Regions from separate parts of the Homo sapiens genome. Here regions 2, 3, 4 and 5 are each linked to region 1. Evidence: promoter capture Hi-C in 16 types of primary human blood cells and fetal thymus (Javierre and others, 2016). All regions are on one chromosome and are shown on one strand. Each heading gives the region's core, a stretch centred on a gene start or on the middle of the fragment in contact. The rest is flanking DNA. Distances are from core to core; before and after follow the strand shown.

Region 1 (2,674 bases), core at 108-2,607:
TGTAGGGGAGATGCAGAAATACCCGTTCCAATATGTTAATTTCCCTTAACATAGTTTTTTAGTTTGTTACCAGTCTCCTTATTAGTGGGAAAAGTAACATTTAGAGGAAATTTAACAAAACAAAAAATTTACTTCGTTTTTAGGTCAACTGATGTCTCTTTTATGAAAAACATAAAAAAAGTTTTCATGAAATGTTTTATGAAAAAAATTAAAGGCTTTTCTTGGCATAGGGTCTTACAACTTACACAGCGTCTTCCCAGATTATCTCTTATTTAATAAAAATATAATTTAATCTACCCCTACTCCCCAAATCAGGAGCTTTAGTTATGGGTACATACGCCTACAAAAGTCACGCATCCTGCAACTGTGAACTTTTTGTGCCTGTCATCTTCAAATACTGATTACCTATAACATGACAATTGGCCCAAAGGCAAAGAGGAGAGTCTCAATCCTCAGGAAGATCTAGGTACAATAAGAAAGGTAAAGGCAATTTAAAACAAAAATATAGTCCATAACACCATTGAAAAGATTTGGTTCAAGTGTGGTAGTCAGGACATGCCAGGTACAGTGCTTAGGGCAAACATCATTTCAGGAACCTTCATAGCCACCCTGAGGAAAGTACTATCATTCTCATTTACAGATGAAGAAACTCAAGCCTAGAGCTGTTGTTATCATGCCTAACAGAGTGCCCCCAAACCCTGCAATGATTCCCAACCCAACCCTGTAAGAGGCCACATACATTTCTTCCTTAGTTCACGGCTATTTACAAATGACTAAAACCACCAGATCCGTCCAGTGGGCACCTACTAAGTTCATGGTACCGGGATGGAAAAATAAACATTAGCCTTTGGCCTCAAACGGCCAGGGTTGAAAGGATTCTGATTTGAAAAATTAAAAACAAAAATAGCAGAGATAAAGGCTGTCTACGGAGTTCAAGGCCACAATAACCCTAAGTAGTTCACGTCAAAATCGTAGCTTTGAAGGTCCTGGGCCTACAGGACAGGCGACGACCCTCAGAGAGGTCAGAGGCGGCAGAACCTGTGCTGGGCTTTGACACAAGGCGTTGCGTCGCAGATGAACTACGCGGGGGTAGGGGTGAGAGGCCCCGGCCAGCAGCTGGAAATCCCCCTCACGTGTGCGGGCCTCCTCTTCCACCTCTCCCCGGGTTCCCCCGTTACGCCGCCGGGCTCCCTCGCCACCCAGGGGCCTGTCTCCACTCTCCCACTCCTCTCCAGGGCCTCCCCCGTTCCCCTTCCACCTTAGCTTGAGCTCTCCTCCGCCCGGCTTCGGGCAAGATGCGAGTCCACACAGGCCACACTCGACCGACCGCTTCCCAGCCAGTCCCCGCGCTACCACTGAGAGGACGGCAAGCGCGGGCTAGAGGAGCTCAACGCCACCACAAAGAGACGTCCGGGAGAAGCCTAGAGCGGACACGAGGCTGGCCGCCTCCGGGGACGGAAGGGGCGGGGCGGTGTGAAGTGGCAAATGATTCAAGGCGAGGCAAGAGGTGCTTCAGATGCTGTCTTTTGCAGTCCTCCGAGAGGTTAGGGATGTGGGAGGTCCCTGGGGGCCATCTCTTACAAGACACAGTTTCCACTAAATTGGATCGTATTTGTACATCTCTACACCTGTGCGTGATAGTAAACTTTTGCACCCAAATACCCCGACCCCTGAAGGAGAGTGTGAGTTAAAAGGATCTGAAGAACGGACCCTTTGTTTAAGGTCTCACATTCTATTTCTTTAATTCAAGCGAAATATATTCCAAAATGCATCTTTTATTGTAAGCTATAAAAATAGCTATTACTTCGAGTAAAATGTAGGCTCCAGGAAGATGCTTGTAAATTTTCTCAGAACAGAAATGGTATTTTTATTGTATCCTTATTGTCTGTCACAGTATAGGTGCTCATTAATTTTTAAAGTGGGTTTTATTATCTAGAATCCAGGAGAACTGAAAGTCTCTTAAAGATTCTTGGCCTTTTAATTATCTTAAGGTCGGGATAGCAGGGAAACAAAAACTTGTTTTAAACTCCCAGTGAAAAATGAGGAACAGGTAAATAAGACAAGCCCCACCAAGGCCCAAGCGTGCTAGTAATTCTCTGCATCTACTGTAAGCTGTTTTCTGCAGTGCGTCTATGGTCCTCCCACCACTTTCATACTGCTCGCCGACTAGGCAAGCGATTTGATGCCTAGAACTAGGGAATGACAGAAAGGAAAAAACAATGAATAGTTTCTTCAACTGTGTCTGCAGGAGGTTGCATTCTGTAATTCTTTTACTGTTTACTTTGTGGTTGGCACTTTGTTAAGCAATGATTAGACAAAAACAAAATTTATTTCTGCTTCCAAGGAGCTCACAGACTAGTGAGAGAGGAATAAACAGTTAATCACAGTGTGGTGTGAAAAGTGTCATAACAGAAACACATGGATATAAACAGGATAAAATGATAGGGGCTAAAGCAGGAGCGTTCTGGGAGGAGATTAATGCCTGCATGGAACTTAATTTGATGCAATTGTGACTTCCTAGTAAACTAGGCAAGCTATCCTAAAGGTAATGAAACAGAGAAGGCTCACAGATCAAATTAAGATTATTAAATAATATAGCCTATTCAATTTAAGTATCCAGTGAAAAGGTGAAAGAGTTGTGGTAAGTGGACACACTTAGGATAAGGTGCAAGCA
Region 2 (2,674 bases), core at 115-2,614, 7.7 Mb after region 1:
GGTCTTGAGTCTATTCACGTGACCAGCATATTACTACTACAGCTGGCATTTGAGAATAGCAACACATTAAGGCCATTTATAACCAAGAAAATCTCACAACCAAGAAAATCTCACAGAGTCTACATCACTCCCCTGCCACCCCCATCAGAACTTCTGCTGGTACCCACTACTGTGAGATTAGAGAACAGGTCCTATCACTGGATCCCTTCCAGACATTCCCCAGCACCATCCTGGAGAATGGCAGCCCCACTGGGTGGCTAGAATCAGAAGAGCAGCAGCAGGATTCACAGTAGTTTGGCCCTCAGGGATCCCTCCTCCTAGGGGAAGTGGGAATATACCACATCAAGGGAGCACCCCGTGAGACCAAAGAATCCAGACTGCAGGCCTTGAGTCCCAAAACTGTCTATTTGTGGGGAGTTTATTTCAGCAAAGGCACAACAGGTGCAGTGTGGGGCTCAGTGGAGAAAGTTTGTGCCTCTACTCCAACTGTCAGCTAGCCCTGGTGCTCATGAAGGAACCTGGGGAAGAAGACTTTTTCTTCCTGATATGGTTTGGTTGTGTCCCCACCCAAATCTTATCTTGAATTGTAGCTCCCATAATTCCCACATGTTGTGGGAGGAACCCAGTGGGAGATAACTGAATCATGGGAGCAGTTTCCCCCATTATGTTCTCATGGTAGTGACTAAGTATCACAAGATCTGATGGTTTTATAAGCGGAAACCCCTTTCACTTGGCTCTCATTCTCTCTTTGCTGGCCACTGTGTAAGACATCCCTTTGCTCTTCCTTCATGTTCCGCCATGAATGTGAGGCCTCCCCAGCCACGTGGAACTGTGAATCAACTAAACCTCTTTTCTTTATAAATTGCCCAGTCTTGGGTATGTCTTCCTCAGCAGTTTGAAAACAGACTAATACACTTCCTCTTGCCCATCACTGCAAACATAGCTGTGGCTTCTCCCACAAGAGCTTGGCATGGGTACACATGTAGAGAGGCTTCCTGGAACACTTTCGGGTGACTGCATCCCCACAGGAGGAGTGCCCTCCAGGTGCAGACTTACATGAGGGATAGAGTCATAGTCCTTTTCTACATGTAACATCACCATTCCTACAGAAGAAAAGGGATGCCTGTCTCATCTGAATAGCTAGAACACTGGGTCAGGAGTGTGACTGGGAGTTGGATCACTTTCCTGCTGGCCTGGTTGGGGAACTACAGTGGCTCCTCCCTTCACCCTGAAAAGACCTTAGTGCATTTCACTGAAAGCTTCTCCAGCTGCCTCTGTCAAGGTTAGGACCTCTGCCCATCACTGGATATTGCATTCCACACCTGCTTTAGCTGCAGCCTGTTTTTACCCATGAACACCTCCTACTGGCCTGAAGCCTGAACTGTTCAACCCAGTGAATAAAATACTGGGAAAATAAATAAATTAATTAATGAATTAATGTACACCACTGGGGAACAAAATAAGCTTTGTGACATCTTTGTCATTCTGGCCCCATAGGAGACAGTAAACCTGCTCACACACTGAGCACATTGCTACTATAACCAGCATCTGAGAAGGCCATCACACCAAGGAGTTCATACAGATGTTTCACACAGATTCTTCATCACTGAAAACACCAAGAGCTGAAATAGGCTAAAATAAACTATAAACATTACAGTCATATCCTCAAGAGGGAAAAACAGAAATTGAAAAACCACATTTGAATAAAAAATAAATTCAAGAAGTAATTAGAAGAAATGGTCTACCCAAATGAGAAGAAATCAGAAAAACAACTCTAGCAATATGTAAAAACATGATTCTATAACACCACAAAGATTCCACTGACTCTCCAGCGATGGATCCAAACTAAGATGAAATCTTTAAAATACCAGATAAAGAGTTCAAGAGGTTGATTATTAAGTTCCTCAAGGAAATACAAGAAAAAGGTGAAAAACAACACAATAAAATGTAAAAGAAAATCAGGTTATGAATGAAAGATTTCCTAAACAGATTGATATTTTAAAGAAAAAAAAAATCAGAACTCTGGAAACAAAAGACACATTTAGGGAATTACGAAATGCAGGGAAAAGTTTTAACATTAGACTAGACCATGTGGAATAAAGAATTCCAGAACTTGAAAACAAGGTTTTTGAATTAACCCAATCACACAAAAATAAAAAAAAAAAGAATGAAAAGAAACGAATAAAATCTCTAAGAAACATGGGATTATGTAAAAGGGCCAACCTAAGAATTATTGATGCTCCTGAGTGGGAAGAAAAAGCAAAAAGTTTTGAAAACTTATTTATTTGAGGGAATAATTAAGGAAAACTTCCCTGGCTTTGCCAGCAATTTAGATATTCAAATACAAAAACCTCAAACAACTCCTGGGAAATGCATTGCAAAAAGGCCAACACCAAGAGCTAAAGTCATCAGGCTATCTAAAATCAATGTGAAGAAAAGAATTCCAAGAGCAGTGTGAAAAAAGCATCAGGTAACCTACAAGGTAAAACCTTTTAGACTAACAGCAGACTTCTCAGCAGAAGCCTTATAAGCCAGAAAGGGCTATGGTCCTATTTTAGCCTCCTTAAACAGAATAACTATCAGCCAACAATTTTGTATCCAGTAAAGCTAAGTTTCATAAATGAAGGAAAAATAAACTGTTTCTCAGACAAGCAAATGCTAAGGGAATATGTCA
Region 3 (2,674 bases), core at 73-2,572, 7.5 Mb after region 1:
CATCCCCTATTATTTAAGGAATAAACTACTGTTTCATTCAATAACATGGAAGAATTTAGAAAATATTATGGCTTTTGCAAAACATATTGTATATTTCATTTATGTAAAACTTAAAGACTATAGTGATATTAACATTTATGCAAAACTTAAAGACTAAAGTGATATTAAACAAATTAATAGTTTCCTGGATCTAGGTATAGGATAAAGTATTGAATGGGATTGGGTACAATAGAAGGTTTTTGGGTGATGGAAAACTTACATATCTTGAATGTGGTGATCACATGTTTGTTAAAACTCAGTGAACTCTACAATCAAAATAAGTGCATAATATTATATGTAAATTATACATCTATAAAAAATTAACCAGCAAGTATATCAAAAAGCCGACAATGGTTTCTGAGACGCTGTCACTATACATCCTACCTTTTTGTAATGTTTGAAAATTTTTACATAAGCAGAAATAACTAATAGAATGCAAAAATAAAATAAAATAAAATAAAAGCATTTGTGTGGAGACGAGATCAGTAACTTTAGTATCACCTGTGGGTTTACTGGAAATGAATCTCAGGTCCCACCTTATACTTACTAAATCAGCAAGTAAATTTTAACTAGTTGCCCAGCTGATTCTCATACTTATTAAAATTTGAGGAGAATCATTAAAACATTTCTCAGTAGATGAAACTTTATTATTTCTCTCGGAAGGATAAATGACTTCTAAATACCAGAAACTAGTGGAAATGTCAACTAATGCCACATTTATGACGCTAGATTCATCGTCATAATAATGGATTTTATATTCTGCCCTCTGTTCTGGAATAGCACTGTCACTAAGAAGGGAGAAAAGGGTGCTGATGTTTACTTGGAATTTTGGCTTTAATTTCTAGGACACCAGAGTCCCATCTCATAAAAAAAGGTAGCATGAACTACCCAGAGCTGTACCACTCATTCATTTATAAATGGTAAGGCAAGGTTAGCAGGAAGAGCTTTGGAACCGTAGCGAAGCTTTTCCATCCCTTCCCTGCATTGCTACCCACAGCAGGTGTTTCCTGGAACCTAGGCTTTGGCCACAAGCCCAGCGGTCGCGGGGCGGGGGTAGGCGGAGCTGTGGGTGAGGAAGGGGCAATGCCTTAAGGGGGCGCAGCTGAGCTGTGGGACTGGTTGGTGTCGCGAGAAGAGGGGGGCGTTGCCGCAGAGAGGCGAGGCGGGGCAGAGCTGCGGGGTGGGGGCGGGGCGTTGCCGCTGGGGCGGAGCCGAGCCAGTGGAGGGCGGTGGGGGCGGGGCAAGCGCGGAGGACCAGGGACCGGCTCCGGACCGCGCAGTTAGCGCCGCCTGGCCTGGGCCGGACCCGGTCAGGGTTCTCAAGCTGTCGTCCCTATGGGGCTGTGTTTTCCTTGTCCCGGGGAGTCCGCGCCTCCCACGCCGGACCTGGTGAGTAGAGCAGGTCCCTGCGTCCGCCGGGCCGCGCCTTGAGCACCTGTCCTCGGGTTGCGGGGCGGGCCGAGCCATTGTACCTGGTGGCGCAGGTCGAGAGCCCGCTGGGGGACCCTGCTAGCGAGGACGGGTGGACGCGTCAGGAGGGTCGTTGGGTCCTGTCAGAGCGACCTAGGCCGTCGCCTCCGTGTAGATCTCCACTTTTGTAACAAAAAGTTGTCGAAAGGCGGCTGTGGCGTCTTTCTACCTTCCACTGACTTTAGCTGCGCCGGATCTTCATAGGGCGCCGGCGCACGCAGAGGGCGTTACGCGTGGGACATTCCGGGGGATGTGGTAGATGGAATTCGGCGCGAAAAGACATTGCTTTCTCCGGGAGCTCTTTAGTCGTCTAGGAGATGTGCGTTTTCAACTGTGTCTACCATCTTTTAAAAGAAGGTGCTCGGAAAGTCGCTTATACGCCTGAGCTTTATCGGATATGTTTTTTTAATGATTTCTTTTTAGTATTTATCTCATTCTTTTACGTTCTCCCTTTAAAAGAATATGTAGTACAGAGTGTCCAATTTATAATGTCGTATTTAATAAAAATACTGGACACCCAGTTACATTCGAATTTCAGATATACAAGGAATACGTTTATAATATCGTTTTGTGCCATGCAATATTAGGGATCTAGTTCTACAAAAACATTACTCATTGCTTATCTGAAATTCAAATGTAGCTAGTGGGTGTGTGGTACAATACATGTACACTTTTTGTAGCTTTCTGTTAACAGTATCTTTACATTAGTACTCCTTACAGGGAGTTAACATAAACCTGTTTCTCTTCTCTAGCTAAAAATTAGTTGAAGAAAATGAAGTATTTTTGGGAAGTACATTAACTCTTCAGCTACTATAGATACTAAAAATTTAGTACTTATAAATTTGATGTGGGAAAGTTCAGCTTCTCTTTGTTGCTGCTGTTGTTTTAAATTAAGTTGATTTTGTTGTTCTGGCTGTCGATAAAATATAACATGTCAGATTTGTTAAGCCCTCCCCCCCATCCTCATACTATACCCTCTTCCCTTGATAACCACACGGCTCACTGCTTGGATGTCACTTTACCAGTGAAGCTTTTGCTGACCACGTTAAACAAAATATATTCCCCACAATACCACCCACCCATTCTCCCATTACTTATCTGCCATGCCATCTGACAGACGTTTACTTACTTCATTATATTTGTCTGTGCGCCCGCAATTGGAATT
Region 4 (2,674 bases), core at 74-2,573, 6.2 Mb before region 1:
AAAAAGTGTGTGTATATATATGTATATATATACACATATATAAAATACATGTATATATGTGTATATATACACATATATAATATATACATATATTTGTATATGTTTATATGTATAATACATGTATGTATGTGTATATATACATATATACACGCGCGTGTATGTATACATATATACACGCTCGTGTATGTATACATATATACACGCGCGTGTGTATGTATACATATATACACGCGCGTGTATGTATACATATATACACGCGCGTGTATGTATACATATATACACGCGCGTGTATGTATACATATACATGTATATATACGTGTATACACGTATATATACATATATACATGTATATATGCATGTATACACGTATATATACATATATACATTTATGTATGTATAATACATGTATATATATATACATTTATGTATGTATAATACATGTATATATACATATATACATTTATGTATGTATAATACATGTATATATACATATATACATTTATGTATGTATAATACATGTATATATACATATATACATTTATGTATGTATAATACATGTATATATACATATATACATTTATGTATGTATAATACATGTATATATACATATATACATTTATGTATGTATAATACATGTATATATACATATATACATTTATGTATGTATAATACATGTATATATACATATATACATTTATGTATGTATAATACATGTATATATACATATATACATTTATGTATGTATAATACATGTATATATACATATATACACGTATATACATTTATGTGTATATACGTATATATACAAAGCACTTTTTGTTCTTCTCTTAGTGTTAGTTATCGTTATAATTAAGTTAGGTGATTTTTCCTTAAGTCATTGCAGTTCTTAAAACTAAAGGGACAAAATGTTTTACCAAAGAAAGAGGAAACAAAAATGCTAAGTGGCAGTCAAGAATTGTTTTTAACTTAATTTTCCCTTTATGTCTAGTTACATGAAACTAAATACTGTGGACTTAAAGGATAACTATATGAAAAAGTTTATTTGGAAAATAGAAAGCTTCTGGATTGCATCTTAAAGCGTGGAAAGTAATGTGAAACTTGAAGGCAAATAGATTTTGAACATGCTCACTTTTATGTGTCACACTGCATTCCCACAGTGGAGTTCCTTTTAAGGAATTATAACTGATTAGACAGATTTTCTTAGGAACACATTAGCTATAAAAGGTCTCTTCAGACCTAAAGACCTTCAAGCCTTTTGAACTGGACTGGAAGCAGGCAGTGTATAGACTATCCAATAAACTATATTTTAAACTGGACATTTGGGCAGAAAAGAAAAGATACACCTAGCTTCATAATTTCTGCCTTTGTCTTGTGGCCAGCACTTGGATATATGTCCTACACCAAATAACAAATACTAATTTCTCAAAAGTGATTTTACTTAAAAAAAAAATGGTTCAAGACTGAAATATACCTGATGTTGTCAAGCGTAGAGAAAATGGACTCTTGCATATATACTGTGCTTGTGTGAGTGGAAATTAGAATGTCTTTGATACATATTAGATAACCAGCATTATCTATCAGAAAGCTTAAAAAGTTACATACCCTCTGATCCAACAATTCTACCTCTAGGAAATTTACCTAAGGAAGTAATTGGACACAGAAATGTACAGATATACCTCATTTTATAGCACTGGTTTTTTGCACTTCCCGGATACTTTTTTGTTTTTTTTTTTTAACATATTGAAGATTTATGTCAACCCTGTGTTGTGCAAGTCTTTGCACGCCATTTTTCCAACAGCGTGTGCTCACTTTGTATTTGTCTGTCACATTTTTGTAATTCTTGGAATATTTTAAACTTTATTATGTCTGTTATAGTGATCTGTGATCAGCGATCTTTGATGTTACTATTGTAATTGTTGTTTTGGAGTACATGCACCACACCCATATGAGATGATGAACTTAATAAATGTGAGAGCTCTGACTGCTCCACTGACCAGCTGGTTCCCTTACTGTCCCTCTCCTCAGGCCTCCCTACTCCCCTGAGACACAGCAATATTGAAATTAGACCAATTAATAATCCTACAATGGCCTCTAAGTGTTCAAGTAAACCAAAGAGCCACATGTCTGTCACTTTAAATCAAAAGCTAGAAATAATTATGCTTACTGAAGAAGGCACATCAGAAGTCAAAATGGGCCATTTAGCCAAATTGTGAATAGAAAGGAAAAGTTTTTGAAGGAAATTAAAAGTGGTACTCCAGTGAACTCACTAATAAGAAAGTGAAACAGCCTTATTGCTGATATGGAGAAAGTTGTAATGGTCTGGATGGAAGATCAAACTAGCCACAACATTTCCTTAATCCAAAACCTAATCCAGAGCAAGGTCCTAATTCTCTTCAATTCTGTAAAGTTTGAGAGAGGTGAGGAAGCTGCAAAAGAAAAGTTGGAAGCTAACAGAGATTGGTTTATGAGGTTTAAGGAAAGAAACGCATCTCCGTAACATAAAAGTGCAAGATGAAAGAGCAAGTGTTGATGTAAAACTACAGCACATTATCTAGAAGATCTAGCTACGATCGTTGATGAAGGTGGCTACACCAGACAACAAATTTTCAGTGTATACTTAACAGCCTTTTATTGGAAAAAGATGCCACCTAGGATGTTCATAGCTACAGACAAG
Region 5 (2,674 bases), core at 96-2,595, 5.3 Mb before region 1:
GCACCAGTTTCAACAATAGTGATGCTGTGGAAATTGGCCTAAGTGGGGTCAAAACTCCCAAGAAATGCTTTACCTGGGATCCACAGACCAGAAACTTGCAATTTTCTAGAAATTGTATACTAGATTTTGTGTGTATTTTCTCAGGTCAGAGTCCAGAACTTTCATCAGATTCTCAAAAGAGTTCAACCAAAAACGGTGAATAAGAACTGCTCCCAAAAAGTTGGAAAGACTAGCTTCTTAGGGACACAGTGAAAGCGAATGTGGTCACAGCCAGGCCACCTGAGTTGAAACCCAGGTGTCCTGACCCCTAGGTTTATGCTCTGAAGGCCCAATACTTACTCTTAATTCTTCAAAGGCTTCGTCTAGGGTGGAGAGTTGGTGGCCCTGGTGAGCCCCAATGACTGGACACAGGACACAGATGAGCTGCCTATCTTCCTGGCAATAGGTACTCAAATCAAGCCCATGGTCCGGACACTTCCTCTTGGCCACTCTCTCTGCTTCCATTTCTATTTCTGGGTCAAATTCACTTTCTGCCTCAGTTTCTCCCTCCGCCTCGGATTCCCCTTCTTCTTGGTTGTCTTCTTCGGCCTCGCTTTCTTGCTCATCCTCCATTTCTTCCTCGCTGTCTTCTTCACTCTCCTCATCGCTCTCATCCTCACTCTCTTCCTCTGTCTCGCTCTCTTCCTCTGACTCGCTCTCTTCCTCCGACTCACTCTCTTCCCCTGCCTCGCTTTCTATCTCCCTCTCCTGCTCCACCTTGACCTCCGCTTCTTCCTTCCCCGCCCCCTCTCCGTCAGCTGGCGGGGTCCAGGCCTGGGAGCCGTGGACGTATTCGGCCAGATGGTGACTGAGGAACTTCTGCCTGTGCGCCTCGGCATGGCGGCGGCAGTAGCAGAAGCCGCATTCTCGGCACACTTCCTCGGCCCCCGGAGCCTCGTCGGGCTCGCACTCGTCACACGTGCCGTCGTGAGGCAGTTCCTCGAAGGCCGCGCCCACTCCAGAGGCCATGTGGGTGCTGTGACGCGGCCAAGGCCTCGGGGCCCCGGGGCTCGCCGCCTTCCTTCCGCGCGGCCTCACTTCCTCCTCCCGCCCCGGGTCCCTTCCTAGGGAGTCGCCTCCCGCCTGGACCGCGCCGCGTCTCGAAGCGGGACCTGGGGCCGCGGCAGCCCCTGCCCGGGCGCAGCAGCAAAGACCCTTTCCGCCGGCTCGGCCTGCTCCGCTCTGTCCCTGCGCTTCCTCTGCCGCGCAAGGCACTTCCGGCGCGGCCACCCGGCGCCCCCGTCGGCCCCCGCGTCGCGCCGCCCGCTCAGCCTCCCGCTACCAGGGAGAGATCGCGGCAGCCGCCGGCCCCCGCGCCGCCCCGGTTCCACTTTCCCTTTCCCCGTCAGGAGGCCTCCTTTTACTTCCTGAGTCATTTAAAGTGGCAATGACCCTTTTCTGCTTTTCCCGCGGGGCTCAGCTCCTCCGCTCCAAATCTCAGCGTGCCTTGGAGGAGGAGGAGGGAGAAGGAGGATGGAGGAAGTCTCTTACTCTCTCCAGAAGCAGGAATTGGGCTCCACCTCCCCCATTCCCTCCCTGGAAGTGTCAACTTGAGTTTTCACGGCCACTAGGCTGGTGTCCCTGTGCATTTCAGTCTCTCTTGTGCCAATTTGTCGCCGCCCGTCACAGTCCCCAGTGTTCTGCAAGGTGCCCGGACAGTGTTGTTTACCAGACTGAACCTGACCTCTTGGGATTTCCTGAGTGCGGAAGGGCTATGTTTGTTCTAGGCTAGGGGAATTGGAGTTAGGATGAGCAAACAAATATTTTCGATCCAAAGCAATACTGTGCTTTGTCTATTTGCATTGCTACCTCCTAGGATCTCAGAATTTCTGGGGTGGTAACCTCTGTGCGGTTTTCTGAGAGCTGCCTTCGGTTGGGCAGAGACGTCAGGTGAAGTGAGGTGGGGAGAGGCAGTATTTGTCGAGTGACAGGTCCAGGTTGCAGTCATTTTCCTTTATGTAAGGTGTCCCTCTAGATTCCCACTGGGCTCTAAGAGAAAAGAAGGGAACTGTTGTTTATAAAGCAGTACTGTAGTGCCAAGAACCCGGCTACATCTTTTTGTGGCTCTTTAAAAGCCGGTTTTGGAAGATCCTCTGCCCGATGGTCCCCAAATCCTGGTGCCACTACCTATCAGTTTTATGACCATGGACAAGTTAATTCATCATTCTGTTTTCCGCTTTTTAAAAAAGATGTTAAGTGAAAAGAACGGTAAATATCTACCTCATGGGGTAGTTTTGTGGATTAAATGTAACGATGCCTGCACTGTAGAGTATTCACTAAGCTTTCATTATTATTTTTGGCACAAATTATATTTAGTGCTCACAATGCCCCTTTGAAGGAACATATTTTACACACACAGGGCATTTTCGGCTGGCTGCTGGTAATGTAGGCAAGTCTCCACCTCTACCCCATATCCATGTCTCTCCATTCACAGAAGAGTTTTTGTTTTGCACTGTATTTGGGAGAGGGAAAATTACGTTTTTATCTAGTCAAGGGAGAGGCTGAGGTGTATTAAGAAGGATGAAAGGGGATGGAATGGTGTCTGTTTTACATTGATTCCCTTAGATGATTTTGAGTTAGAATTTCCAGATGCTTTCCTCAAACATACCAGGGGATGAGGTGGGGTAAAAAAACC

Evidence for each region. The method cuts DNA at HindIII sites, captures the fragments that hold promoters and counts their contacts. A CHiCAGO score of 5 or more calls a contact.
Region 2: a contact is called between a fragment that was not itself captured here and the fragment with the promoter of ARL14EP in region 1, in 1 of 17 cell types (non-activated CD4 T cells). The highest score is 5.6, in non-activated CD4 T cells.
Region 3: a contact is called between the fragment with the promoter of SVIP here and the fragment with the promoter of ARL14EP in region 1, in 3 of 17 cell types (total B cells, naive B cells and total CD8 T cells). The highest score is 9.2, in total B cells.
Region 4: a contact is called between a fragment that was not itself captured here and the fragment with the promoter of ARL14EP in region 1, in 2 of 17 cell types (naive CD8 T cells and non-activated CD4 T cells). The highest score is 7.5, in naive CD8 T cells.
Region 5: a contact is called between the fragment with the promoter of TRIM44 here and the fragment with the promoter of ARL14EP in region 1, in 2 of 17 cell types (total CD4 T cells and non-activated CD4 T cells). The highest score is 15.0, in total CD4 T cells.

The regions. Positions count from the first base shown.
Region 1 is chr11:30,321,787-30,324,460 of GRCh38, reverse strand. It overlaps ARL14EP (ARF like GTPase 14 effector protein), which reads right to left and starts at 1,357. Exons shown (of 4, transcript NM_152316.3): 1 at 1,259-1,357. It overlaps ARL14EP-DT (ARL14EP divergent transcript), which reads left to right and starts at 1,515. Exons shown (of 2, transcript NR_187437.1): 1 at 1,515-1,543. RefSeq lists a silencer at 1,128-1,257 and enhancers at 1,328-1,577, 1,090-1,695. The HindIII fragment of the contact is 9,349 bases long and covers 1-2,674 here.
Region 2 is chr11:22,632,248-22,634,921 of GRCh38, reverse strand. It overlaps a transcript of GAS2 not described here. Among named protein-coding and RNA genes, the nearest start is that of FANCF, 7.8 kb to the right of the region's middle. The HindIII fragment of the contact is 205 bases long and covers 1,262-1,466 here.
Region 3 is chr11:22,828,449-22,831,122 of GRCh38, reverse strand. SVIP (small VCP interacting protein) reads left to right here and starts at 1,322. Exons shown (of 4, transcript NM_148893.3): 1 at 1,322-1,428. The coding sequence starts at 1,375. LINC02718 (long intergenic non-protein coding RNA 2718) reads right to left here and starts at 1,709. Exons shown (of 11, transcript NR_187210.1): 1 at 1,512-1,709. RefSeq lists a silencer at 1,198-1,267 and an enhancer at 1,418-1,727. The HindIII fragment of the contact is 1,537 bases long and covers 1,005-2,541 here.
Region 4 is chr11:36,505,197-36,507,870 of GRCh38, reverse strand. All of the region lies in intron 1 of TRAF6 (TNF receptor associated factor 6), which reads left to right. Among named protein-coding and RNA genes, the nearest start is that of TRAF6, 3.7 kb to the left of the region's middle. The HindIII fragment of the contact is 528 bases long and covers 1,060-1,587 here.
Region 5 is chr11:35,661,446-35,664,119 of GRCh38, reverse strand. TRIM44 (tripartite motif containing 44) reads right to left here and starts at 1,345. Exons shown (of 5, transcript NM_017583.6): 1 at 340-1,345. The coding sequence starts at 1,008. RefSeq lists enhancers at 657-1,157, 1,369-1,688 and a silencer at 949-1,328. The HindIII fragment of the contact is 12,326 bases long and covers 1-2,322 here.